5 separate regions of the Homo sapiens genome follow, and regions 2, 3, 4 and 5 are each linked to region 1. The links are contacts of gene promoters, found by promoter capture Hi-C in blood cells and fetal thymus (Javierre and others, 2016). All regions are on one chromosome and are shown on one strand. Each heading gives the region's core, a stretch centred on a gene start or on the middle of the fragment in contact. The rest is flanking DNA. Distances are from core to core; before and after follow the strand shown.

Region 1 (5,204 bases), core at 1,030-3,529:
TATTCAGGAAACCCTCTCATGCCCACCCTCTTGTCAGATGAGTTTTTTTTTTTTTTGCTCTGTCAGTCCCCTAGCACATTAAGAGTACGCCATTATAAGACTTATCAGTTTTCCTCTTAGCAGTTAGTTATCCGTTCAAAAGACTGTAAGCTTATGAATGATAGAGTCTAAAAACCTTCTGTCCTTAGCACAGGGCCACTGCCTGTGGCAAGTGCTCAAAATTTTGAGTTCAGACACTCATCGACTTGGTAGTGTGAAAGGTGTCTGCTACAAACTTATTAACTTTCCAGAGCTTCAGGCTCTGGAAACTATTGATGGAGAGAGGTGAAGATAAGAAAGACACCTATCTTGAGTTTTAGTAGGCAGAACACTCTAGAGAATCATTTGACTGGTTTTCTCACTCTGTAATTTTCAGACCATTTATATCAAATTAATTTGTGGTGCTTGTTAAAGATGCAGATTTCTTGACCCCACAGACTTATTGAATTGGGATCTCTAGGGGATGCCTGGGCATCTGCATTTTTAATGTGCATATAGGTTTATTGATTTACAAATCAAACTCATATTTCTTTTACTGGCATGACAATCACCGTAATTCAGTGTAATTCTCAAAAGTGTGGTGCAGGAACTCCTGGGTGTCCCTGACACTGTTTCAAAACAATTTACATAATATTAGGACATATCCCTTTTTCACTCACATTCTCACACAATATGGCACAATTTTCTAAAAGTTACATGATGATTGATATTGTAAGAGAATGAAGGTAGAAGTTACGAAAATCTAGCTGTCTTTTATTCAGCCAGACATTAAAGAGATTTGTAACAATGTAAAACAATGCCATTCTCAATAATTTTTCATTTTGGAAAATATCCTTTACAGAAATGCTATCTATGTTAACATATAATGAGTTTATTTTAAAATGAATAACCTTTGTTGAAAGTTGTTTTCTAAAATAGTAAATATTGATAGCTATTATAAACAAAAACCCTTTGAAGTTCTCAATACATTTTAAAAGTATAAAGAAATTCTAAGATCAAAAAGTTTGAGAACTGCTGCTATAATTATCAGCAGCATTTAAAAAATAAGTGGCTTCCCAAGATTCCATACTTTAGCCCCAAATTCTATGCATTTTCCATTACAACAGAAAATCAGAGGAAATGATCCATTTTATATTTAAGCAGGGGTTTTTTTGTTGTTGTTTTTTGGAATTTTAACAAGCTTCCAGGTGATATTGATGAACCTAAATTTAGAGAACCACTGTCAAAAGCAAAGGAAAATATCTGAAGAGTTTTAGAAGTGACAATTACTCTTATCTGGGAATTAAGATGATAATTCCGAGGGCATTAAATGGAGTTGGAAAACATGAGTTCTTAAAGGCTAAGTCCCTTCACCTCTCTGGGATTCAGTTTTTCTTATCTGTACAATAAGATTGATTTTAATATTTTACTAGCTCTGTCAGTCTGGATTTCATGCATTTTCACTGCTCGAGGGCAACAGAAGAGTTGCATCTTTCTGATGAGGTCCCAGGAGTAATCTTAGAGTCATAAATCAGATCATGTCATTCATCTGCTTAGAAACCTTCAATGGTTTTCCACTGGATTCCAAACAAAAATCAAACTCTTTATCCTTGCTCATAAGCCTTACAAGATTTGGGCTCAAGTCCCTGGCCTCATCTCTCTCCATTCTCACCTTGCTCCTTTTGCTCTAGCCAGTGGCCTTTGTCTTTTCCTTGACTTTGCTAAGTTTGTTCCCACTATATGGCCTTTGCACGCGCTATTCTCTCTGCCTGGAATGCTCTATTCCAGATTTTCATACGGCTTATTACTCTCCCACTTCGTTCCATCACATTATCCAGTCTAAATTTCTTTACAGCACTTACTACCACCTTAGATAATCCCGTTTGTTGACTTGTTTATAATCTGCTTTTCGCACTGCTTGAGAGCAGGGCCCTTCCGTTCGTTGACTGATGTGTCCCTGGAGCCCAGGGCAGTGCCTGGCAGGTATCTGGCTCTCAGTAAGTGTTCGATGACCGAACTCCCACACCCAGGCCAGACTTTCAAAAGAATGGCAAACATTTTCGCCTCCTGCACTCCCGACCCCAAGCCACAGGCTACGACTCACGCCTCGGCGCTCCTAGTAGTCCCCTCGCAGCGACCCCAACCAAGCCGTCACCTACCCGACCGCCGTCTAGCTCCTTCCGGCCTCAGCGGCGGCTTAACTCGGAAGTTTTCTCGGACACACCGGCACGCCTCTGCGCTGAAGGAGCACTTCCGGGGCAGTAGGAACGCCGAGTCGGCTGCCGTGGCTGTGCTGAGGGTGGCGGCCGGATAGGTGCGGAGCTTCCTGAACGAGGCAGGAGGGGTGCGAGGTTCAGGGGCAGGGCCCGGGCAGCCGAAGTCGTTAGGGAGGCGGTGACCTGACGGTGGGCGGCGGACATCTCGCGGCAGGGTCGAGGGCTGTGAAAGCGGTTTAGTGATTGAAGCGCTACGTTTGTGTGAGGAATTCTTGTCGTTGTCAGCGCCTGAGAACTTAGTTGGGAGCGGACGTTTACGTCGAATCTCTCGTTTGGGACCCCATTCTTGAATGTGGGAAGAAGTGAGAGCGCATGTTTGCTCATCTAGAGACAGCCGTATTAATAACGATAGGATACAAACCATCACCCCACCAAGTGATAGCAGCTGTTAACCTGTGGGCGGTTACGTGCCGGTCACTGTTCCAAGCCCCTCACATATCGCGTCACTGAATCTTTATAGGGACCCAGAACTCCATTTGACAGATGAGGAAACGGAGAGGCAGACAGGTGACCTGACTTCCCCACAATCGCTGCAGGACAGGAAGAAAGTAAACTCCAGAGCCCGTGCTCTTAGCTACTAAGCTGTACTGCTCTTCATTTTGGTAAATGGGGCGGGTGGAGTGTATATATACGTAATATATATGTGTGTGTGTAAGCGTATGCGTTTTTATTTCTTAAAAATATGGCTCAGCCGTATTTATTTACAGTTATTGGAATCTTTCTCCTCCAACTGAGAAAATAACTGGAGGAGAAACTACAATTATTTCTACACGCTTACTACACAATGCCTGGAAGACTTACAAAAACACTAAATAGTGCAGTTCCACGTACTTGGTGTTTATTCCTTTTTTTTTTTTAACCTTTCTCCTAGATTATGAATGAGTTGAGGAAAGAGATGGTACAGTCATTCTAATAACGATAGTAATGATAATATAAACAACCATCACCATAAAAAATTCTCTTCTGGCTTAGCTCAAATATCTGGCACAAATGAAAGAATAGAGATAACCAGTGTTTAATATTTTAGTAAAGGGACTGTTTTGGCAGGGCATGGTGGCTCACGCCTGTAATTTTAGCACTTTGGGAGGCTGAGGCAGGGGAAGATTGCTTGAGGCCAGGCCTAGGGTTCAAGACCAACCTGGCCAACATAGCGAGACCCTGTCTTTAAAAATATATTTTGGAGTATGTCCTTCCAGTCTTTCATGGAATTATATGAATTTATGTAATATGTATATTATATATTCTACATATAGTATACTGTATATATTTATGATGATGATAATGATGCGTTGCAACCTGGAGAGAGCATAAGGAAAAGATAGGAAACATTTATTCATATACACAAAACATTAATTGAACTTTGTGCAAAAACTGTCTCGTCTTTCCTATTAGATAGGCCCTTGGAGTGAATGGCTTACATTAGTTCTCTATCTCCACAGGTACTGTGGTACTACTTGGTACGTAGTAGGTACTCAAAAAATGTTTGCGAGTGAATGAATGGCTACTTCTAAGTTGGTTTGTATGTCAGTGAGTAGTTGTATCTGGATTTTTTCTCTATGTGTTTTGGAAATGTGTAATGTGTTTATATTATATGCCCATATATTCTGAACTCCATAGTGTTGTCTTAATCTACCTTTCTAGCTTCATGCCTTCCCATTGTTCTTCTCTCTGCCATGGTAACTACTCCCTACTGTAACTGTCCATGTTCCATACTGTCAGACCTCAGGCCTTTGGCTGTACCCTCATGTTATTTCCATATCCTTGAATCCTGTCATTGGCATCATCATCTGTCAAAATCATAAGCTTCTTTTAAGGCAGGTGTTGCCAACTCAGATGCCTACAGAGGTTAATCAGGTAGCATAATTTGAGTGAAGTGGATTTGCGTGGGGGATTGTAGGGAGCTGGAGAGCAACTGCCCTAGCTAAAAGGGCCCAGCGGCTATTTAGCACAAGCTAGTTATTACAGAGTTGAATGTGGGCCCGGTGTTGCTAGATCTTTTAATTTTACAAGTTAGAAGTTGGAAGCCTATATTTTTATATGAAGTCTGATTTTTAAATGTTGGCATCTAGTTTTTGCAAAGGTTAAATACTGTGCAGGCCAAATAAAAACATCTGTAGGCTGGATTTGGCACTTAAATTCCCAGTTTGTGACCACTACTCTAGGCTTATTTCAGGTACTTTGTTCATGAATTACGTTGTCTGATTCTAATGGAGTTCTGTTTTTTTTCAGCATTTTGTGTGTTGGATGGTCTGGCAGGGATGTTTCAGCATTTTGTGTGTTGGACTGAATGCAGCACCTGTTATAGTGCTGCATCCAGTCTGCCTTAGTTTTAATATGCCTTTCTTTTCTAATACATTAGAAACATTTTGATAGCATGGGTTGGGTCTAATTCTGCACTTAGTACATATCAGTACATACCTACAGCGTGTGTGTACATATGTGTGAGATGTATTGATTTCTACTCTGATAATCCTTGGTTATCCTGGAAACTAGTGTCTGTTCTTTGTAGAGACACCAATAGTATCTTGGCTTTAATTGCCAAAGAGCTCTACATCTGGAAGGAATTGAATTGAGTAACACTGGTATTCAAAAGTTGATCTGACATAAAGCCAATCTGATGGCTTAAATTTCATGATGTCCTGGAAAAATTGAGGTAGGAATGATTAATAACTAGTAAGATTTTTAAGGACAATAAGTAAAAGGAAAAATTGATAAATTATACCTCATTAAAATTAAAGACTTGCTCTGAAAGGCCCAATGAAGACAATTAAAAGATAAGCTACATACTGGAAAAAAATATTTGCAAACCACATATTATACAGAATATATGAAGAGCTCTCAAAACTCAACAGTAAAAAAAAAATCTCATTAGAAAATGGGCAAAAGATACAAAGATATTTCACTGACAAG
Region 2 (5,204 bases), core at 1,618-4,117, 2.8 Mb after region 1:
TCGGAGAATTGCTTGAGGCTAGGAGTTCGAGACCAGCCTTGGCAATATAGTGAGACTCTCTATAAATTTTGTTTGTTTGTTTTTTTGAGATGGAATCTCACTCTGTTGCCCAGGCTGGAGTGCAGTGGCACGATCTCTGCTTACTGCAACCTCTGCCTCCCGAGTTCAAGTGATTCTCCTGCCTCAGCCTCCCTAGTAGCTGGAATCACAGGCATGCACCACCATGCTCGGCTAATTTTTAGTAGAGACGGCATTTCACCAAGTTGGCCAGCCTGGTCTTGAACTCCTGACCTCAGGTGATCCACCCGCCTCAGCCTCCCAAGGTGCTGGGATTACAGGCATAAGCCACTGTGTCTGGCCTACAAAAAAAAATTTTTTTTTTCTTTGAGAGGGAGTCTCGCTCTGTTGCCCAGGCTGGAGTTCAATGGCACAATCTAGGCTCATTGCAACCTCTGCCTCCCGGATTCAAGCAATTCTCCTGTCTCAGCCTCCTGAGTAGCTGAAACTACAGGCACACATCACCACATCCGGCTAATTTTTGTATTTTTAGTAAAGACAGGGTTTCACCATATTGGTCAGGCTGGTCTCGAACTCCTGACCTCAGGTGATCCATCCACCTCAGCCTCCCAAGGTGCTGGGATTACAGGCATGAGCCACTGTGCCTGGCCTACAAAATTTTTTTTTTTTAAATTAGCTAGGCTTGGTGGCAGGCACTTGTGGTCTCAGCTACTCGGGAGGCTCAGGTGGGAGGATCACTTAAGCCTGGAAGACTGAGGCTGCAGTGAGCCATGATCACTCCACCGCCCTCCAGCCTGGGTGATATTGCAAGATCCTGTCTCAAAAAAAAAAAAACTGTTTTAAAATTTCAAAATCTCACCAATACAGTGGTAGTCACTCAATTTTTTTTTTTAATGAAAATGAGTTTGTTATGTTTTGTAACACAAAAAATTCATCTTCATCAGTATTTTTGCTGGTTATGTGGCATTCTATTTTTATGGATATAGCATAATGTATTTAACCAACCTTCTTTTCTTGGCTGTTTAGGTTGTTTTGGGTTCTTTGTTTTTAATCATGAGCACTGTTCCAATAAACATTGTTAATTTTAGTATAATTTAAGTATATCCTGTTTCTTCAGTACCTGTGGAGCACGTCCTATGGCAGGGGTTCTCAAACTTTAGCCCAGGCCAGACATGAGTGGAGTGCTTATGAAGCCATAGATTCCTAAGCCCCATCCCCAGAGTTTAGGCCAGGGGTGGGGCCCGAGAATTTGCATTTCCAACAAAGGCGGCTGGTAGTGCTGACACTGCTGATTTGGGAATCACACTTTGTGAGCCACCATTCTCTATTATACTTGCTTTTGAGAACCTAATAACACGTTTCCTTAGTTTCCTTTCTTACACACTTTTGCAATTGGTTTTGTACCCTATGGAGGGAGCAATTTTTTTGAGGTCTCATATTCTTTCCCCATTCATGACTCTAAGCCGTTTTCACAGCACACCTTTCCAAGAGTTTTGGGCCTGACTTTAATATTCCAATATACACGCAAATAGGCATACACACTGATTTTCAAAATTGGTTATCTTTTTCCTGCATTGCCATTTCAGAAACCTCAGCTAATAACAAAGAGAAGATAAACAAAAGCTCCTTTTCCTAGACACTGACATTTTATGTCCCATAGTCACCATACCTGGCCTGCCTCAAGAGGTTGTTGTGATGAATAACATCTATCCAAGATGGATAGAGTCAAATATTACAGATGCTTGTGAGGTGGAAAAAACTATCAGCCCAGAAGTGAGGAGGCATTAAAATTAAACTTAGTATTATTGGCCAGGTGTGGGATCCCAGGACTTTGGGAGGCCGAAGCGGGCGGATTACCTGAGGTTGGGAGTTTGAGATCAGCCTGGTCAAAATGGTGAAACTCTGTCTCTACTAAAAATACAAAAATTAGTTGGGTGTCGTGGTGCATGCCTGTAATCCCAGCTACTGGGGAGGCTGAGGCAGGAGAATCACTTGAACCTGGGAGGCAGAGGTTGCAGTGAGCCAAGATCGTGCCACTGCACTCTAGCCTGGGCAATAGAGCGAGACTCTGTCTCAAAAATAAATAAATACAATAAACTTAGTATTATGATTTATTTGTAGGCCATTGAGTCAAAGTTTAGGTTCTGGAGTTAGAACTGTATTCTGTGCAGTGGCTCATGCCTGTAATCCCAACGCTTTGGGAGGCCAGGGTGGGAGGATCGCTTGAGGGCGGTCGTTCAAAATCAGACTGGAAAAAAGAAAAGAATTTGGTTGGGTATGGTGGTGAGCCTCTGTAGTCCCAGCTACTCAGGAGGCTGAGCTGGGAGGCTCGCTTGAGCCCAGGAGTTTGAGGCTGCAGTGAACTATGATAGCGGCAAAAAAAAAAAAAAAAAAGGAACTGGATTCTATCTGGGCTGTGGTAACTTACTAGCCATGTGACCTTAGGCAAATCATGTTGCATCTCTGAACACCATTTTCCTCACCTGTAAAATGGAGGAAGTAATACCTTTGTTGCACTGATATGGCAAGAAATAGAAATAAAATGTATAAAACAACTGGGACAAAAACAGCCCTCAATGAATGATAGTTGTTAGTTTATCAAATAATTGCTTTAATTATTTTTTCCCCCGGCCCTTTCTTAGCTGAGGGTTCGGAAAAGCATCTGTTGCTCCTTGAGGTTTTCTTTTCTTCTGCCCTGACCAGAGCTTCCTATTATTTAGAAGGATTCTGGTCACCTGCCTCTGGTGGCGGCGCCGCTGGCCCTGCGGGCTACACTGAGGCCCCGCTCTTCGGGTATTTACGGCGGGCGGCCGCCCCAGCTCAGGCTCAAGACAGCGCTTCCAGGTTCAGTTTCAGGGTCTCGCCGGCAGCCCCAGCCGGCGGGCGCGGAGCGGGCAGCGGGGCCCGGATCGCAGGCTCCTCTGGGGGCCCCGGAGTTGGGAAGCGGCGTCCGGGAGCCCCCGGAGGAGGATGGGCTGCAGACACAGCAGGCTGAGCAGCTGCAAACCCCCGAAAAAGGTAAAGGGCGCCGGCGGAGAAGTTTGCTTTCAGAGGAGAGGGGAGTGCGGAATCGCTCCGCCGCAGAGGACTCGGCGCCCCGGGCTCTCTCTGGTCGGCCCGGGATACCGGACGGAGAACCTGGAGAGGCCAGCTCAGAGACGAGGGAGGCTCTGCTGGGAGGCGCCCTTTACCCCGGCCCGAGCCGCACCAAGCAGCCGAGTTTACAAACACGGCACCCGGGCCAGGGAAAGGCAGCTGATTCCCGCTGCCTCGGGTGGGGAGATGTCGTGTGTCTGTGGCAGGTGCCCTCTGCTTTCGGTCTGGGGCTGTTCGCTGTGTGGCCATGGACAAGTGACTTGACCTCTCTGGGCCTTCGGCTTCCTCCCCCCGGGGGTTAAAGGCTGATAATCTCAGGGCTGCTCGAAGAGTGTTCCACAGACTCGCAGTATCAGCATCCCTGGGGACCTGTCAGAAATGCAGAATCTCAGGCTCAGGCCCAGTCTTGCCAAGACAGAAGCTGCCTTTTAACAATATGCCCAGGTGATGACGCTTTAAAGTTTGAGGCGCTGGTCTTAGGGCTCTTGCAGGCCCCAGAGCTGGTGAGTGTGGGCTGCCCTTGGGGTAGCTGGGAGGGGCCAAAGAGGGAGGAGATCTACTGCGTTCTGTGGCCCTCTCCTCCCTTCCTGTCCTTCCCCCAAGGGGCCTTGGAGCTGGGTCAGGGCCCAGGGGACAATTCTCAGGTTTCTTGCAGTGAGACCAGCTGCCCCTTGGGGTCTGACGAGCCCAGAAGGTCAGAGCCTGGAGCTAGAAAGATAGCCTCCTCAGGGGACACTGTGAGGCAGAGGGGAAGAAGGACCCTCAAATTCTGGCCCCTTTTCTTACCACTACCTGCCCCCTAGCCAGGTGGGACTAGGTGATCCCTTAAACTTTATCATCATTCCCCCTTGAGACCTTGAGAGGCCCCAAACTGTGACAGTGTTTAATAGTTTTGCAATGAACTTTAGTCCTCCCTCTGCTCCTGCTTTGCTTGTGCCCTGAGTACAGGTTTTTCTGCCTAACAGTAGTCCTAGCCTGGAGGATTCTACTCCCTTCTCTGACACCTCCTGGCTTTCCTTGCTCTCCCTTTATTACCAGATTGAAATTCTCACCAACTCCTGACCTAGAAACCCTCATGTCTTTACTCACTCCAACAGGGAAACTGAGGCTTGGCTCTATCAGTAGAAGGAAGGGGCTGGCTGACAGGGATGACAAGGCGGAGAGACCTGAGCCTTGGCTGAGACTTGTAACTGAGCAAGTGGTAGGCAGACATTAGCCCTGGGTGTAAGTCCTGGTGGTGCCATAAACATACTGGGTGACCCCAAGCAAGCCCTTGTGTCTCCCTGGGTCTCAGTTTCTCCCTGTATGGGGAGTGATGAGCAGGATGATCCCTAAGCATCTGAGAGTCTGTGTTCTCTGCACCTGTGTCAACCTTGTAGCTTGCAAAGTGGACCAAGGGTGAATTCCATCTACCTAGAGGTGGAGGAAACGGGGAAGAGCCTGACCCTTCCACAAGCTGGAAGAGGAGGTCACAGTAAGCACAGGTTCTTTGGCTCCTGCTCCTTCTGAGAGACTTACCAGCTGTTCCTGCCTGTCCCTGGCACAGCCAAAGCTCTGAAGGGCAAGTAAAGCTGGCACAGCCTGTCTGAGTTGGAAAGGGCCTTTGGGTACTACCTGGGCTGACGCACCCACTATACAGATAGGAGGTTAAGGCCTAGAAAAGGGAAGGAGCATGACTGAGGTCACAGAGCAACACAGAGCAGAACCCAGGTATCTAGTCCCCTAGCTCCGTGTTCTTTGTCTCCACCTCCTCCCGCTGTGCTTCCAGTGGCTTCTTGATGACTTTAGCGTAAAATCTTTTACTCCTGTTGCCTCAGAGAACAGCCTGGCATGCCTTCTTGGCCCCAGCCATGCCAGGCCCCTGCCCCTATATGGCAAGATTTATGGGCTGTTTTTGTTTAAAGTTCTCATCCCTGTAGGCTGTGCTCCTGCCCAATTTCTCACCCAGGTGCCAACCCCTTGGAAGGCATGAGCTCCCAAGTTCATCCCCAACAGGCTACCAGCCCCCTGGGAGAGAGGGGGACTCCAGGGATGGGATGGACAAAAATGAGCTCAGGCTACAGAGGGGTTAGGTTCTGATAACCATGACT
Region 3 (5,204 bases), core at 1,002-3,501, 2.3 Mb after region 1:
CTCTCTTTCCAGGCTCAGTGAGGACTAACTTAGATACTGTACAAAGATAATTTGACATGTAATAGACAATCAGTAGATTTAGCTCTTATGTTGATCTTGCAAACCCTTCAAAGCTTTGGCTCAGTATATAAGTACAAACCATAGATGAATTGATTTTCTGCTGGTTATCCTAGAGCAAGACTCAGCAAACTTTTTTTTTTACACGGCACCGATAGTAAACATTTTAGTCTTCACAAACCATAGGGTCTCTGGTACAACTACTCAACTCTGCCATTCTAGTGCAAAAGTAAACAAATGAGTTTGGCTGTAGTTTTTTGTTTTTGTGTTTCTTTTTTTTTTTTTTTTTTTTTGGACGGTGTCTCGCTCTCTTGCCAGGCTGGAGTGCAATGGCATGGTCTTGGCTCACTGCAACCTCCGCCTCCTGGGTCAAGCGATTCTCCTGCCTCAGCCTCTTGAGTAGCTGGGACTACAGGCGCATGCCACCACTACCAGCTAATTTTTGTATTTTTAGTAGAGATGGGGTTTCACCATGTTGGCCAGAATGGTCTCGATCTCTTGACCTCGTGATCCTCCCGCCTCAGCCTCCCAAAAATGCTGGGATTACAGGCATGAGCCACCACACCTGGCCCGATTTGGGCTATGTTTTAACAAAACTCTTTGTAAAACAGGTAGTTTGTAGTGTGCCAATCCATGTTCCAGAGCATCATCATTTTTTTTTCCAAAACAATTTTTTTCTTTTAAATTAAATGGAGCCATGATCTCACTGTATTGCCCAGGCTAGTCTCAAACTCCTGGGTTTAAGTGATTTTCCTGCCTCAGCCTCCTAAGTAGCTGGGATTACAGGCACCTGCCACCATGCCTGGCTAATTTTTTTTCTATTTTTAGTAGAGAAACAGGTTTTGCCATGTTGGCCAGACTGGTCTCAAACTTGTGACCTCAGGTGATCTACCTGCCTCAGCCTCCCAAAGTGTTGAGATTATAGGCATGAGCCACATTGCCCAGCCTAAAAAAACTTTTTAATAGAGGAGAGCATCATCTCAGACTGTAATGTGGGGAGGAATGACTTGGGTGTCTTGTTAAAATGAGGATTCTGATTCCGGACTTCTGGGAAGGGACCTGAGATTCTGCATTTCTGACAGGCTCTCAGGTGATGCTCATATTGTTGGGCTGAGGACCACATTTTAAAGACAAGATTTTGTAATACTTACTACAAATCCTTCTTTCCAGAATCTGTTATTGTTGCTGTCTGTGAATAGTCAGGAAACAAGATGAAAAAATCAGAGATGTTTAGAAGAAAGGAAAGACTGACCATTTTCTTTAAGACAGATTTTGCAGATTTGGCCTTAATAAAAGGAGTGGTTTACTAGTCACAAAGGTCAAACAGTCTGCACTGGAAAATCGAGCTGCTTAATTCTTGGTCTTCGTTTCCTCTGTAGAGCACAGTGACAATCCAGACTCAGCGGTGTTTAGAGACTTGGAAAGAGTTTGAGAAGCCACTTAGCCACTTTATTTTCAGGTTTGTAGTTTTGCCTCCCGTTCTCTCCCCAGTAGGTTAAAAATGGGGAGTGGCAGGGCCCGCTCCACATCCACAGAGTCAGTTGAGGCAGGTGTCTGGGAGCTGCACTTTCCACAAGGTCCCCAGATTCTTCCTATGCACACTAAAGTTGAAAAAAATTGAGTTAGCTAATACCCTTTTGGTATAGATTAGGGAACTGGAGCCCTTCTGGAGCAGAGATTTTGCCTGTGGTTTTCTAGCAAGATATATCACTACACCCAGGATTCCAACTGAGGTAATAGACTTCAAATATTTTGAAGTGCTCCATGAAAAATGTAGCCATTGATTTTTGAAGGGAAACAGGAGAGACAAATGGAAGAAATTAATAATCCAATAGCTAACCTTTTACCCAACGGAACCTAGTACTAGGCTCTAATTTCCTTAATGTGTTAGTTATCTATTGCTCCTTAGTAATTATCCCAAAACTTTGTAGTATAAAACAACAAATATATTTATAGTAACTCACACAGTTTCTGAGAGTCAGGAATTTGGGAACAGCTTGGCCTAGTGGCTCCAGCTCAGAGGCTCTCATAAAGCTGCAGTGAGATGTTGGCTGGAGCTGCATTCATCTGAAGGCTTGACTGGAGCTGGAGAATCCACTTCCAACATGTCTCACTCACATGCTTGTTAGCTCGAGGGTTCAATCTCTCACTTTGTGGACCTCTCCTTGTGGTTGCTGGAATTTCTTTGTAATTTAGTAGCTGACTTCCTCTAGTGCAAGTGACCCCAGAAATGGAGCAAGACAGAAGTCACAGTGTCCTTTATGACATTGTGATAGCTTCAGAAGCCACATAACCTCACTTCAAGCCATATTCTATAAGACACACAGACCAACCCGAGACATGTGGAATGGGATTACTCAAGGGCATAAATACCAGAGGCAGAGATCATTGAGGCCATCTTGGATGCTGGCTAACCGTACTTAAAATCCTGTGTTCATCCCATTCACAAATCTAGAGAGGGACTCTTACCCTCAATTTTCAGATGTGGAAACTAAGGCACAGAGAAGTAACATATTGATGATCATGCAACTAGTAGTGCCAGAGCTGGTATCTGAAGCCATATTTATCTGATTTCAGATGGTCTCATTTCCAGAGATTTTAAAATAAAGTATTGGTATAAGTAATCCTTGTGTGAAAGCAAAGCAAAAGATCCAGAAGTTCAAACCAGCCATGTCAATTATCCATTGACTCAAAAATAAGTTTTAAGCACCTACTCTGTCCAGGCACTGTTCCAAGTATTAGGAATCCAGTAGTGAACTGAACAAAACCTCTGTCTTCTGGGAGCTTACCTTCAGACCCTTGATCTGTTAGATATCCTAGAGACTGTAGAATGTAGAGCTTACATGAAGACTAGGAGCCGGGGATCCCTTCCTGCCTGGCCTCCAACCCACTGGGGAACCCAGGCAATCCTTTCTTTCCCTGGACCCAGATGCTGCCTCTGAGAATGCGGCCCTTGGATGAAAGCAGAATCACCTGGGGTAATGAGTAGACATAACAGATTCCCCAGCCCAGACCTGCTGACCAGAACCTGTAGTTTTTGCAAGCTGTAGGTGACTCTAGTGCAGAAAATAATTTTGTGGTTCATAAGTGGGCCCACCAGATCAGCATTGCTCAGAGTATGGGGGCCCATCCCTGTCAGAGTTACTGGTGGCCCTGAGACAAAGCTCATAGCTCAAGAATCAGTGTTTTGAAGGTAGGACTGGGAAAAAGCATTTTAAACTAGATCTCCAGGTGATTCTATTTACTATGTGCCAGACACTGCTAAAGGATTTATAGGGATGATTCCATTGAATACAACTTGTGAGGTAGAAACTCTTAGCTACTCTATAGTTGAAGAGACGGGCTCAGAAACAGGCTTCTGATGAGTCTGATGCCAACCAGGTCCTGCCCAGTCTCTCTGTCTTCTGTCTTGACCCTGAGTGGGCCTGTCTGCTGGCACTGTGTGGGGGTCACTCTACAGGGCTCGGGTCATGGTCCCCCTGTGTTTGTTTCAGAAGCACGAGTTCTCTGTGGACATGACCTGTGGAGGCTGTGCTGAAGCTGTCTCTCGGGTCCTCAATAAGCTTGGAGGTGAGTGAGTGGCCCTGAGTTGGGTGCACTTATGCCATGTTCAGATGCATGCAGATGTTGCAGGAGAGACTTAGGGTTAAGCTGATCATAACAGTAAAACTAAAATATATTGAGTACTTAGCACGTGCCAACTACTCTTGTTATTTTCTTAGTGGCTTATGTGAATCACATCATTTAATCCTCACCACGGCCATTTCAGATAGTTTTTTTTTTACTAGCTCCATGTTAAACAGGAGACAGCTGAAGTTCAGAAACATTAAATAACTTATCTGGGATCACATGGTCAGTAAATGGCAGAGCTGGGATTTAGCCAAATTAACTAGTACTGCCAGGAGTAGCTCTGGAGCCATGGCAGTACTAGTTCATATGTTGGTCATCTCCAGTGTGTACTGCATGACACATCTGAGTGTCATTTTCTATTGAATTTTTTTTTTTTTTTTTTTTTTTGAGACAGAGTTTCGCTCTTCTTGCTCAGCCTGGAGTGCAATGGTGCAATCTCGGCTTGTTGCAACCTCCGCCTCCCAGGTTCAAGCAATTCTCTTGCCTCAGCCTTCCAAGTAGCTGGGATTACAGGCATGCACCACCACGCCTGGCTCATTTTGTATTTTCAGTACAGACGGGGTTTCTCCATGTTGGTCAGGCTGGTCTCGAACCCCTGACCTCAGGTGATCTGCCCGCCTCGGCCTCCCAAAGTGCTGGGATTACAGGCGCGAGCCACCCTACGCAGCCTCTATTAAGGTTTTTTAAATGGGGCTGGGCACGGTGGCTCACACCTGTGATCCCAGCATTTCGGAAGGCTGAGGCGGGCAGATTGCCTGAGCTCAGGAGTTCCCGAGACCAGCCTGGGCAACATGGTAAAATGCCATCTCTACAAAAAATACCAAAAAAATTAGCCAGGCATGGTGTTACATGCCTGTACTCACAGCTAATTTAGGGGGCTGAGGTGGGAAGATCGCTTGAGCCTGGGAGGTTAAGGCCACAGTGAGCCTAGATCGTGCCACTGCACTGCAGTGGGGGCAACAGAGCAAGACCCTGTCTCCAAAAAAAAAAAAAAAAAAAGAAAGAAAAAAAGGAAAGATTTAAAAAAAGGTAAAAATTTTTAAAATTTTGTCTTTTTCTGTTTCTTTACTTCAAAAAAAAAAATTTAAATTAATTTTGAATCACTCACATGCAGATTTTTTTTTTTTTTTTTTTGAGATGAAGTCTCACTCTGTTTGTTGCCCAGGCTGGAGTGCAGTGGCATGATCTCAGCTCATTGCAGCCTCTGCCTCCTGGGTTCAGGCGATTTCCGGTGAATTTTTGTACTTTTCATAGATATGGATTTCACCATGTTGGCCAGGCTGGTCTTGAACTCTTGACCTCAAGTAATCCGCCTGCTTTGGTCTCCCAAAGTGCTAGGGTTACAGGCATGAGCCACCGCACCTGGCCACATGCAGATATTCTTAAAGCACCTCTTTTGAACAATCAGTCTCATCCAGCCTTGTCATTTTACAGCTGGGGAAACTGAGGCCCAGAGAGGACTGGGATCTGGTCCTGGGACTCAGTGAGGTAATAACTGAGTTGTGATCAGAGTTTTG
Region 4 (5,204 bases), core at 2,294-4,793, 2.2 Mb after region 1:
AACCTGGTTGCCCTTCAATTAGTAATGACAATCACACAAAAGTTTGTTTCACACGTGTAAACAAAACCTTCACCCATCTCACACACAGCACTCAACAAATAACACATATGTGAAACGAGTATTAGTCTATATTGCCAGATTAAATTTTCTTCCAGAAATATTTTAATAAAAATTGGCCATTTCCAAGTAACACCCACTGCATGCCCATCAATAAAAGAGAACCATAACAAAATAGAAAATTTACCATATGGCTATGATTTTAAGAAAAAAAAAAATGCGGACACGAGCACATGAGCAAAGTCCAATATTAAAGTAACATTCCTTCTTACGGGCTATGATTAGGAATCTGATTAGATACCAGAATAAAAATACAAATGCTGAACTATTTAGGTCAAAGAACCTCTATAGAAGCATCTGTCTTCAAAGGCATTCCAGTTTGAGACTCAATTTTAGAATAAGGCATAACAAATATGTTAACAAAAGACATACACAAAGTGATGAAAGAGGGATTCTATAATTCCCCACATACTCTGAACCTAATAAAACAAATCTAGATTTTTTTTTTAAACAATTGCCAAGACTGAAATCAAAGATAAATAGAAGGCACAACAGTTTTGCTCTGGTTGTTATCTGGGTTTTGGGAATTTTTTTGCTTTTTGTTTTTTTACAAATACAAATTAAACATGAAAAAACTACTTCAAAAAAACTAACAGTTCAAGAAAAGCCTATCAGTTGCATTCTAGACATTTAAAACCTATTATCACAATTTAAATTTCAATGGTAAAAACAGTTAGGTTTTAGAATTGTTTTGTGATCCTTTATCAAAAAAAAATTCTATTCCTTTTATTCAGTTTTTAAACATACCAGTGAGAATCAAAATTGTCAAATTTTCCAATGGCAATTTCTCCACACCAGAAGGTAGTCATGACTCTCAAAGAAGAAACAATTTGGGTTTTTCCTGCCTTCAAAATATTATCAAATCCTGTATTTCTTACAGGCTTTTCAAACACGTAGAAAATAAGAAATATTCCAATGAATGAAACATACCAAATGTCAGTAATATGCAAGACATTCCTTTGGGGAAATGGCTGTAAAAAAAAAAAAAAAATCCAGTCTGTATATGCAAAGTAAGCAAGGAAATTCAGTCTTTTTTTTTGCTTCTTTAAAAGTCCGTTATTCCTAAAATATCATTCCACAAAATTGGAAGTGAAAGACTAAAGGTCAGGAAAGGGAAGAGAGGGAGAGGGAGCACACACCATTAACACACAAAAAAAGTAAAATTATACAAACTTAAGCAGTTTATAACAGACTGGGGTCATACTCCAAGATACCAAAGGCTGTCGAAAATTCACCATTCTGTTGGAACCAGGGTTTGTATGGCTGCATGAAGATCCATGAAGATTCACTGCCGTGGCGCAAGCCCCCTTCCCACTCCAAATCCTGGTTTCTGCACCATGCCTCCACGGGGAGGGCCTCTCATTCCACCACCCAGCCCACCTCGAGGGCCTCCAGGTCCCCGAAGGCGATTATCTCGTCGGTCGCCTTCCCTGGCAGCTCGAGTCTTCTTCTCTTCGACATTCAGACGGACCTCACCTCTGAACATGATGGGCTGTAAGAATCAAGGTGACCAGACTTAAGAGTACTGATGAGCTGGCTATCACTATCAAAGATAAAGAAAGCTGTAATAATGAACCAGCAGAGGCTGGGCACGGTGACTCATGCCTGTAATCCCAGCACTTTGGGAGGCCGAGACGGGTGGATTACGAGGTCAGGAGTTCAAGACCAGCCTGACCAACATGGTGAAACCCCGTCTCTACTAAAAAAACACAAAAATTAGCCAGACATGGTGACACACGCCTGTAGTTCCAGCTATTCAAGGAGGCTGAGGCAGGAGAATTGCTTGAACCCAGGAGGCGGAGGTTGCAGTGAGCCAAGATCACGCCATTGTACTCCAGTCTGGGAAAAAGAGCGAGACTCCGACTCAGAAAAAAAAAAGAACCAGCAGATTATAAATCAGCTAAGTTCTCACAGTTCAGTTTTTTGTTTGTTTTTTTAATGAGACAGAGTTTCACTCGTCACCCAGACTGGAGTGCAACTTGAACCCGGGTGGCGGAAGTTGTGGTGAGCCAAGGTCGTGCCACTGCACTCCAGCATGGGCGACAGAGTGAGACTCCGTCCCAATAAAAAATAAAAAATAAAAAAAATTGCCACCTTCTCCATAGATTTGGAGGCTTAGAATAAAACCTCATCATCACCAGTGTGAAAAGATGGTACTGTACATATTTATGCAAAGTACATATACATTTAAAATAAAAACTTCATTAATTTGACATAAACTTTAATTTGCTCTTTAACACCTCCTGAGAATTTTGGATAGTCTTGGCCTTCGTTTCCTCCTAACAGAGCCAAAGTAGTTAAGGGGCTACGAAACATTTCAATATATTCAATTTATGCTCTTCACCAGCAATGTAATTTTCTAATTTCTTAAAATGAGTATCTAAGAGTACTTACTATGTGTCGCGGAAGTGTTCTATTCAAATTTATTTATTTATTTATTTTTTGAGATGGAGTCTCGCTCTGCTGCCCAGGCTGGAGTGCAGTGGCGCGATCTCGGCTCACTGCAAGCTCCGCCTCCCAGATTCACGCCATTCTCCTGCCTCAGTCTCCCGAGTAGCTGGGACTACAGGCGTCCGCCACCACACCCAGCTAATTTTTTGTATTTTTAGTAGAGACGGGGTTTCACCGTGTTAGCCAGGATGGTCTCAATCTCCTGACCTCGTGATCCGCCCGCCTCGGCCTCCCAAAGTGCTGGGATTACAGGCGTGAGCCACTGTGCCCAGCTCTATTCAAATTTATTAGCTCACTTAACCTTTACAACAACCCTCTGATGGTAGATACCTACTTTAAGGACTAGCAAACTAAGGGCCGGGGAGGTTAAGTAACTTGTCCCATGGGTCACAACACTAATGAGTGATGAAAGGAGAATACAAACCAAGGCCTCCAGGGAAAAATAAGCTTTGAAACGGTAAGCTACACTACAGTATGTCATACACCACGGCAATCAGTCTTACATAAGCTATTTCTGCTCACACAAAAAATTAGTGAAGGGAGCATAGTAGACTTCTATCAATACCATGAAATGAAGGGTGGCCACTAGGCCTAATACATGCTGAATGATGGATTTATCTACAAAGCCTACTGGACATTTCTGGGTTCTTCAGTGGCTTTGGTGAGATAAACCACTGTTCTCTCATTTCTCAAACAGTATTTTGCAGGAGATGCTTCACAAAAATAAATGGTCAAATAATTTGAAAGATAATGTATATTTGCATACTCAGGTTGACATGTTATAACCACAACATTAAACTATGCAGTAAGGCCAGGTGCATTGGCTCGCACCTATAATCCCAGCACTTTGGGAGGCCAAGGTCAGCGGATCACCTGAGGTCAGGAGTTCGAGATCAGCCTGGTTAACATGGGGAAGCCCCATGTCTACTAAAAATACAAAAAAATCAGCTGGGCATGGTGGCGGGTGCCTGTAATCCCAGCTACTCAGGAAGTTGAGGCAGGAGAACTGCTTGAACCCAGGATGTGGAGGTTGCAGTGAGCCAAGATCACACCATTGCACTCCAGCCTGGGTGGCAGAGAGAGACACTGTCTCAAAAAAAAAAAAATAAAAAAATAAAAAACTTTGCAGTATGCCCATTAACATTCTGGAGAATATCACTGATCTGCAGTATTTTTATTATATGGTTTAAAGTACACAATTTTAATTCATAGGGACAGAAAGCAGATTAGTGGCTGCCAGGGGTTGGGAGACAGGTACAAGGAATGACTGCTTAGTGAGTAAAGAGCTTATGGCTTTTAGTAAAAAACTTTTGGAATTAAAGGTAATGGTTGCACAATAATGTGTTCTAAATGCAATTAAGTTGTACATTTTTAAATGGTTAATTTTGTTATGTAAATTTCACCTCAATAAAAAAGTATAGCTTAGTAAATTAATATTATTTATACACTTGTTCTTCTCTACTACTACAAAAAGTAGTTTTTTGCTAGAGGAAGGGAAGCTTTCTTTGGGGATCCCACAGTAAGATTTCCATTCTACAAATTCTTCTATTATTAGAACGTACAGAGTAAGAGTACTGTTAGTAAGGATGGTTCCAAGTAGGTTGACTATATAATTTATCTTCCAAATCCAATTTATTAACTTAAAGAAGAAGCTCTTAATAGTTATTCTCTAAAAACAGCAGTATACCAAAACTGTCCTGGGCAAACTGGCTCTTATCTTAGTTAATAGTTAGAAGTAGGTTTGTATTTCATCTCCTGTATACCAAAAGCCACCACCAAGGAAAGGTAGTTACGTAAATCTCAGTGCACTGATAACTATTCATTTTCTCATTCTCATAATTCATGTTTTCAAAAACTAAGTTACTTAAACATAAGGTTTGTTTTCCTAAACCCCCAGGCAAGTCTTTTAATAATGGTTGAAAATAATGAATAAATTACCTGAACATGTTGGAATAAACTGCACTTTACATAAAGACCCAGCTGTAAAGATATATTCTAAAGAACCAAAACCCTTTTTAAAAAAAAAAAAAAAAAATCAAGACAAAAAGCTGCTTACCCTGTTGCTAAGGACTTTCTGAACAGGCTCAGAATCATCAAACACAACAAAACCAAAATTGGGTAATTTCCCACCACTGTTAATGCGCAACTCCACCACGTTTCCATAACCTGCAAGTGAAACACATTCTCAGATAACTACTTAGACCATTATCTTTAAACATTACATGTACACAGTCCAATACAGTAGCCACTAGATGCATGTGACTACTGAGCACTTGAATTATAAATATAGCTAGTCTGAATTGAGATGTGCCTCTCATAAGTGTAAAATTATGGGAGGCACATTTGGATTTCAAAGATTATGAAAAAGTGTAAAATATCTCTCACAATATTCTTACATGTTGAAATGACAATGCCTTAAGTTAAATGTTATTAAAATTATCCAGTTTCTTTTTACCTTTTTTTTTTTAACCATGACTACTAGAAAATTTATAATTACATATGTGGCTCATTTTCTATTGCTACTGGACAGTGCTAGAGAGACACTAGATGAATTTAGTGTTCAAAACTCAATAACCTACTTTGAAAGAAATCTTTAAGCTCTGATTTGTCCACTTCATGAGGCAGGTTGCCAATGA
Region 5 (5,204 bases), core at 1,624-4,123, 2.2 Mb after region 1:
CATGTCCAAGATATTTTACTAGCACCAGCCCCTTTGATTGAGCACTGCACAGCTCCAGTAGATGCTGTTTGTATGGACTAAAATGGGAATGGAGCCTCCTGAAGATATGTAGTATGGTGGGCCTATGGTACTTTCAAAGGCTGCTTCTACGCTCCCTAAGTATCTACCAGTTTGACACACTAAAAGAAAACAAACACTATCTCTGGCCAGATAAAGTGTGAATAAGGCCACTAGCTAGATTTGATCAGATTCTCCTGCTCTGTTCCCTCCTTTGAAGATACCTCAGCAATCACCCTATCCACTCCTTCCATGCAACTGATGAGAGAGACCCACAATAGCAAGGCCAAGTCACCGGTATCATGAGGCACTGATGGCAAAGGCAGGAGAGGTGCTAAAAAACCCGAGGTTCTTCTCCAAACATTAACCATACCACCATGAGTTCTTATCTGTTCATCAGTGTGTCCATCCTGAAGCAGATAAAAATTGTCCTGCATTTATTAGATCTTAAATAAAAACTAAGCCTCATCCCATGGCGAAGGTCAAAAACTAGTAGCCGGAAGGCCAGATTTGGTGTGCAAATATCTGTACTTTGGCCTGGAGTGTTTTTAAAATCTGGACTTAAGGGGTCAGCATTTAAAAACCACACTTCTGGCTTCACTAGAAAAAAAATCACAGCATCCAGCCACACTGAATGTGCTTCCCATAAGGTATTGGTGCACTGGAACTGCCTTTAGGTAGGGAATGCATTTTCCAGTTAATACCATCCCTTCTAACCAGGGATATTTTTCAGCCCCAACTCACTTTACCACTCACATTTCTCCTGCCTGCCTCCTTCTATGCATTTGAATTAACGTAATCTCATTCATAAGGGCTCTTAAGTTGGCCCAAATGTCAGAAATTACAATGATGCAGAAGTGAGCTCACCATAAAGAATAGTTTCCTTAGAGTAAGCCGCTCTGGAAGTGATTTGTACCCTAGAGGTGTACAAGCTTCTTCTGCAGAAACTCTCTTTAACAGGAAGTTTGCAGAAGGGATTTTAAGTCCCAGATGGTGAGTGGAGAGGAACTAGCTACATGCCTGAATTTCTCAGAGCCTGTGATCTTGGACAGCTTTCCCAACTCCCACCATCTTCCCATGTTGCCTCATTTGTTGTGCACAAAGCATCTGGTTCTCGAATTCTCTGGCCAGCCTCCTTAGGCAAATTATCAGGAAACCATATCTGTGAGCACCAGACTCAGCAGGCATACTACTAGCAACTTCCCTGAGCTCCAGAGTACACTACCAGATTTCCCCTGCTCCAGCTCTAAGCAGCTCCAGATGCAGTTGGGCATGCATTTCCTGCCACCTGCTGGTTCCAATAAGAATAGCAAGCCTTTTACCAGTCATTCCTAGGGAATTTTTCTCCCAGACACAATATGAAATTGATAATCCTCTAGCTAGATGGGGCCTTCAATCCAAACCTCTACTCCTCCTACTCCCATGTTTAACAGATGAGAAAGGCAAAGAATAATTCACCCAAAGCAGCATAAAAAGTTAATTTGGTGCTTCCCCCTACGTAACTAGGTCCCAGTTTAAAATAAAAAATAAAAATAAAAATAGAACAACACCCCAGCTCCAGCAAGGGGAGATTTTCATTGAAATGCAATAGAGTCAGACTTAGACCCCCTTCTAAGTACTAGGTCCAGCAATTTGGCTGGCTCTCCCCAACTCCTCTCCTTGGCCCTGGCATTGAATCTTCTACTGTTGCCCTATTCATAGACAAGTACTTACTGAGCACCTGTTTGCCAGGCACTGTAGGTGGCACATCCTCTTCCTCCTCACTTTTGCAATGAAGATGTTGGACAAGATTCATTCATTTTCCAAGGATTTCTTCAGCATTTACCATATGTCTCAAACCCTTCTGGTGCTAAAAATACAACTCCATTTAAACAAACAACAACAACAAAAAAGGACACTAAAGCTGGTGAAGATATACAAGTAAACATTTGTTCAACAAACATATACCAAGTTTTGAGCTTATGAACCAGGGACTATGTTCATATGTTCAGTGTTGAGAGTGCAGTGAACATGACAGACTTTGCACGGAGCTTATAATCTAGTAAGAGACAGACGCTAATCAAGAAATTACCATACAATGTGATAAGAGCTTTAAAAAAAGACGGAGATATATACAGAGAGCTTATGGAGCACACAGCAGGAGCGGCTAGCCTATACTTGGGAGCTCAGAGAAGGCTTCTAAGGAAGAATTAGGTGAAAGAGGAGTTGGAGACAAGAGATGGGGTTCAGAGTGTGTTCTAGGCAGGGAGAACAACTTGCACAAAGGCCCAGAGTTCAAGAAAAGAACCATGACATTTTCAAATATAAGGAAATATTTCAGTGACTAAAGCATAGAACACCAGATAGAAATGGCACAAGATGAGACTGCAAAAGCAGGCAGGGTCCAGGTTCTAAGGCCTTGTTTATCATGTTCAGGATTTTAATTAACCTGAAGTCAGTGGCAGCCTATTAAAAGGTTCTAAGCAAAAGATGACCAAGATCTGTGTTATAACGACTCAGATGGGTTGGGTGGTGGGGGCAGATTGGAGGCTGTTGCAATGGTGGGCTGGACACAGTGGCTCACACCTGTAATCCCAGAACTTTGTGAAGCCGAGGCAGGAGGATCTCGAGGCCAGGAGTTCAAGACCAGACTGGGCAACATAGCGAGACCCCCATCTCTACAAACAAGATAAAACAAAACAAACAAATCAGAAGGTGGCCTACCCTACAGGAGAGATGGAGAGGCACCAGTGAATCCTATACTGAGTTTTTCTCTGTTGGCCCGGTCCTGCACAGGAACAAGCAGAAGACGGTGTTCTTTTCCTGAAAGCATTATCTAGTTGGGCAATGTGAGCTGATAAAACTTCCCAATGCCAACATTGAATCAACAGCTGAGACCAAAACATTAGACTCTCAATTCCTCCTCAGAGCTCACATGCAACGATAACAAAGCTGGACATGAGGAGAGCAGACAATAGTGCCTCCATGATTCAGACCAGGGCAAGACCACCATGACCTGGGAAAGAGATGAACTAGAAGGATCAGGGCAGCAGGCATTTTGGTAGTGAGCATAAGGAAGGGACGTGAGAAGGCACAAGAGAAAATGTACAAACCTGGAGGGCTGCAAAGTATCTGGTGGGGGAGAAGGAAAGCCTGGAAAGGTAAGTTGGAGCCAAATGATGAAGGGTCTTGAATGAAAACTTAGTAAAAATCCAGAGGTCTGTCTGAAGTTACAACTGCCAGGGATGTGGGAACGTAGAGGCAGGAAGAAGCTGTGGCTTCCCTGGCTTGTAGAACGGAAGTGAGGCCCAGAGCTCCTGCTCCATCCTGGCCCATAGCCATCCCCCTTACCACCCACTCCTGGGAGTTATTAACTGGGGAATGGGATGGGGAAGAGGGCAAGGAAGCAACAGAGGCAAAGCAGGGGATCTGTCCAAATTGTCCTCTGAATTTCTAACTAAAACCCAGTACAACCTTGAATATGTTCTCAATTATAACCTCTGATGGTCAAAAGAAACTTGTGGAGTAGTGGGGAGAATCTTATCCCCCAGGTAGAAGAAAAAATGAAATAAAAATCCCCGAGACTCACAGAAGGAAATTACTTGCCTATGGTCATACAACCAGCAATTGATAGAGCTGGGACTTGAACACAGGTCTCCAGACTCTAAACCACATTCCTATCCCCTGTTTTGCATCTGTTTCAGCAGGCAAGTGGCGCCCCTCTATAAGGCAGAACTCCCCAGCCAGCCAAAAAGCCTCCAGAAACCTAGAGTGATGCAGTCTGGAAAGCAGGGAGAACCAGATAGGCATGGCCTGGCCCCCAAGGGAGTGCCTTGCAGGGAGGGTGCCTAGCCCCTGTCTTATTTTAAGTAGAGCCCCATGTTGAATCTATTCCAGGAGGATGAAGCTGGAGAAGGCCGCTTTAACTTCTCTGCCTATGGGATGGGCCCAGCCTGTCTACAGGCCAAGGATGGCATCTCAGTCAAGGGCGCCAACAACAGTAACACCACCAACCCCCCTCCTGCACCATCTAAGTCCCCAGAGGAGATGCGAAAACTCTTCATCCAGAGGGCCAAGAAGATCGACAAAATATCCCGCATTGGCTTCCCCATGGCCTTCCTCATTTTCAACATGTTCTACTGGATCATCTACAAGATTGTCCGTAGAGAGGACGTCCACAACCAGTGAAGGGTCTGAAAGGTTGGGGGAGGCTGGGAGAGGGGAACGTGGGAATAGCACAGGAATCTGAGAGACTAAGGAAGAGAAGGGGAACGGAGGGAGGGGGCACACTTACACAACTCTCTCTGCAATATGTGCAATAGCAAAATGCAGTGATGCATGAATTTTACAATGTGGCACTATTTAACCTCAGATGGGCTGTGGGCGGGGGGTCAGGAGGGACTTTTCTAATACAGCAACTGAGGGCTGGGAGGAAAGGAGGGGGTAAGGGCAGGGGGTGGGGGATTGGGGAAATAATAGCTTTCAAAAATCTGTCCATGGGCTGTGCAGTTTTCCTGTTTGGAAGGAGAGCGCAGTCTGCCCCAGAGCAGAAAGAAAGTAATGTAATATATGATATATATTCATGCTTAATATTAATGCAAAACCCCAAAAACAAAAGATTTGTTTCTTAACCTATCAGCCTAGTAACTGCTTAAATTTTTAAAGTCACGGAAGTAACGGACAATTTTTCCCAGAGTGGAAACAGTCACAAATAAGCTTGCTCTGGTGTATGTCCCATATCATACCCCTCCAAACGCCATACCTGTCTTCAAACTGACCCAGGCGGACACATGCCAAAAAGCCATTTTGCCTCTGCTTCAAGAGGGCTGTGTGGTATGGGAATGGGTAGTGGAAATGGGGACAGGTAGAGAGACGAGAAGGGAGTGACTAAAGAGACGGACATTTCAGAGGCCAAGGATTGAGAATGTAGGTAACCCCAGCTCAACCCTCACATCTCAAGGCTGAGGACCACAATTGCCCCTCTCTGAGCCCTCTTGCTTCTGTGCTTCAACAACGCCCCACTCACCCTTCACCAGCACCCAGAAATGGCCAATGTGGTTTTCTCATTATATTGCCAATATGCAATCTTTTTTATGGTTAAAAAAAGTAATAATCTTGAAAGATAATATGCAGATAGACTGAGTGTAAACAGGTACTTTTTTCAAATG

What was found. The method cuts DNA at HindIII sites, captures the fragments that hold promoters and counts their contacts. A CHiCAGO score of 5 or more calls a contact.
Region 2: a contact is called between the fragment with the promoter of CCDC69 here and the fragment with the promoter of FAM114A2 in region 1, in 1 of 17 cell types (erythroblasts). The highest score is 5.0, in erythroblasts.
Region 3: a contact is called between the fragment with the promoter of ATOX1-AS1 here and the fragment with the promoter of FAM114A2 in region 1, in 1 of 17 cell types (M0 macrophages). The highest score is 5.0, in M0 macrophages.
Region 4: a fragment that was not itself captured here is called in contact with the fragment with the promoter of FAM114A2 in region 1 in 1 of 17 cell types (M2 macrophages); the score reaches 6.2 in M2 macrophages.
Region 5: a contact is called between a fragment that was not itself captured here and the fragment with the promoter of FAM114A2 in region 1, in 1 of 17 cell types (M2 macrophages). The highest score is 6.3, in M2 macrophages.

What each region holds. Positions count from the first base shown.
Region 1 is chr5:154,035,985-154,041,188 of GRCh38, reverse strand. It overlaps FAM114A2 (family with sequence similarity 114 member A2), which reads left to right and starts at 2,279. Exons shown (of 14, transcript NM_018691.4): 1 at 2,279-2,332. It overlaps MFAP3 (microfibril associated protein 3), which reads right to left and starts at 2,222. Exons shown (of 3, transcript NM_005927.5): 1 at 2,178-2,222. The HindIII fragment of the contact is 2,878 bases long and covers 1,222-4,099 here.
Region 2 is chr5:151,221,755-151,226,958 of GRCh38, reverse strand. It overlaps CCDC69 (coiled-coil domain containing 69), which reads left to right and starts at 2,867. Exons shown (of 9, transcript NM_015621.3): 1 at 2,867-3,036. The coding sequence starts at 2,989. LOC105378230 (a long non-coding RNA gene) reads right to left here. Exons shown (of 4, transcript NR_160730.1): 4 at 2,609-3,483. RefSeq lists silencers at 1,137-1,431, 2,915-2,994 and enhancers at 3,115-3,314, 3,335-3,444, 4,865-5,084. The HindIII fragment of the contact is 18,522 bases long and covers 1-5,204 here.
Region 3 is chr5:151,750,127-151,755,330 of GRCh38, reverse strand. ATOX1-AS1 (ATOX1 antisense RNA 1) reads right to left here and starts at 2,251. Exons shown (of 4, transcript XR_007059008.1): 1 at 2,022-2,251; 2 at 1,209-1,658. ATOX1 (antioxidant 1 copper chaperone) reads left to right here. Exons shown (of 4, transcript NM_004045.4): 2 at 3,552-3,627. The HindIII fragment of the contact is 3,507 bases long and covers 116-3,622 here.
Region 4 is chr5:151,800,290-151,805,493 of GRCh38, reverse strand. It overlaps G3BP1 (G3BP stress granule assembly factor 1), which reads right to left. Exons shown (of 12, transcript NM_005754.3): 10 at 5,148-5,204; 11 at 4,625-4,734; 12 at 1-1,609. The coding sequence ends at 1,403. Among named protein-coding and RNA genes, the nearest start is that of G3BP1, 31 kb to the right of the region's middle. The HindIII fragment of the contact is 1,052 bases long and covers 3,018-4,069 here.
Region 5 is chr5:151,821,693-151,826,896 of GRCh38, reverse strand. It overlaps GLRA1 (glycine receptor alpha 1), which reads left to right. Exons shown (of 9, transcript NM_000171.4): 9 at 3,934-4,384. The coding sequence ends at 4,224. Among named protein-coding and RNA genes, the nearest start is that of G3BP1, 52 kb to the right of the region's middle. The HindIII fragment of the contact is 3,763 bases long and covers 992-4,754 here.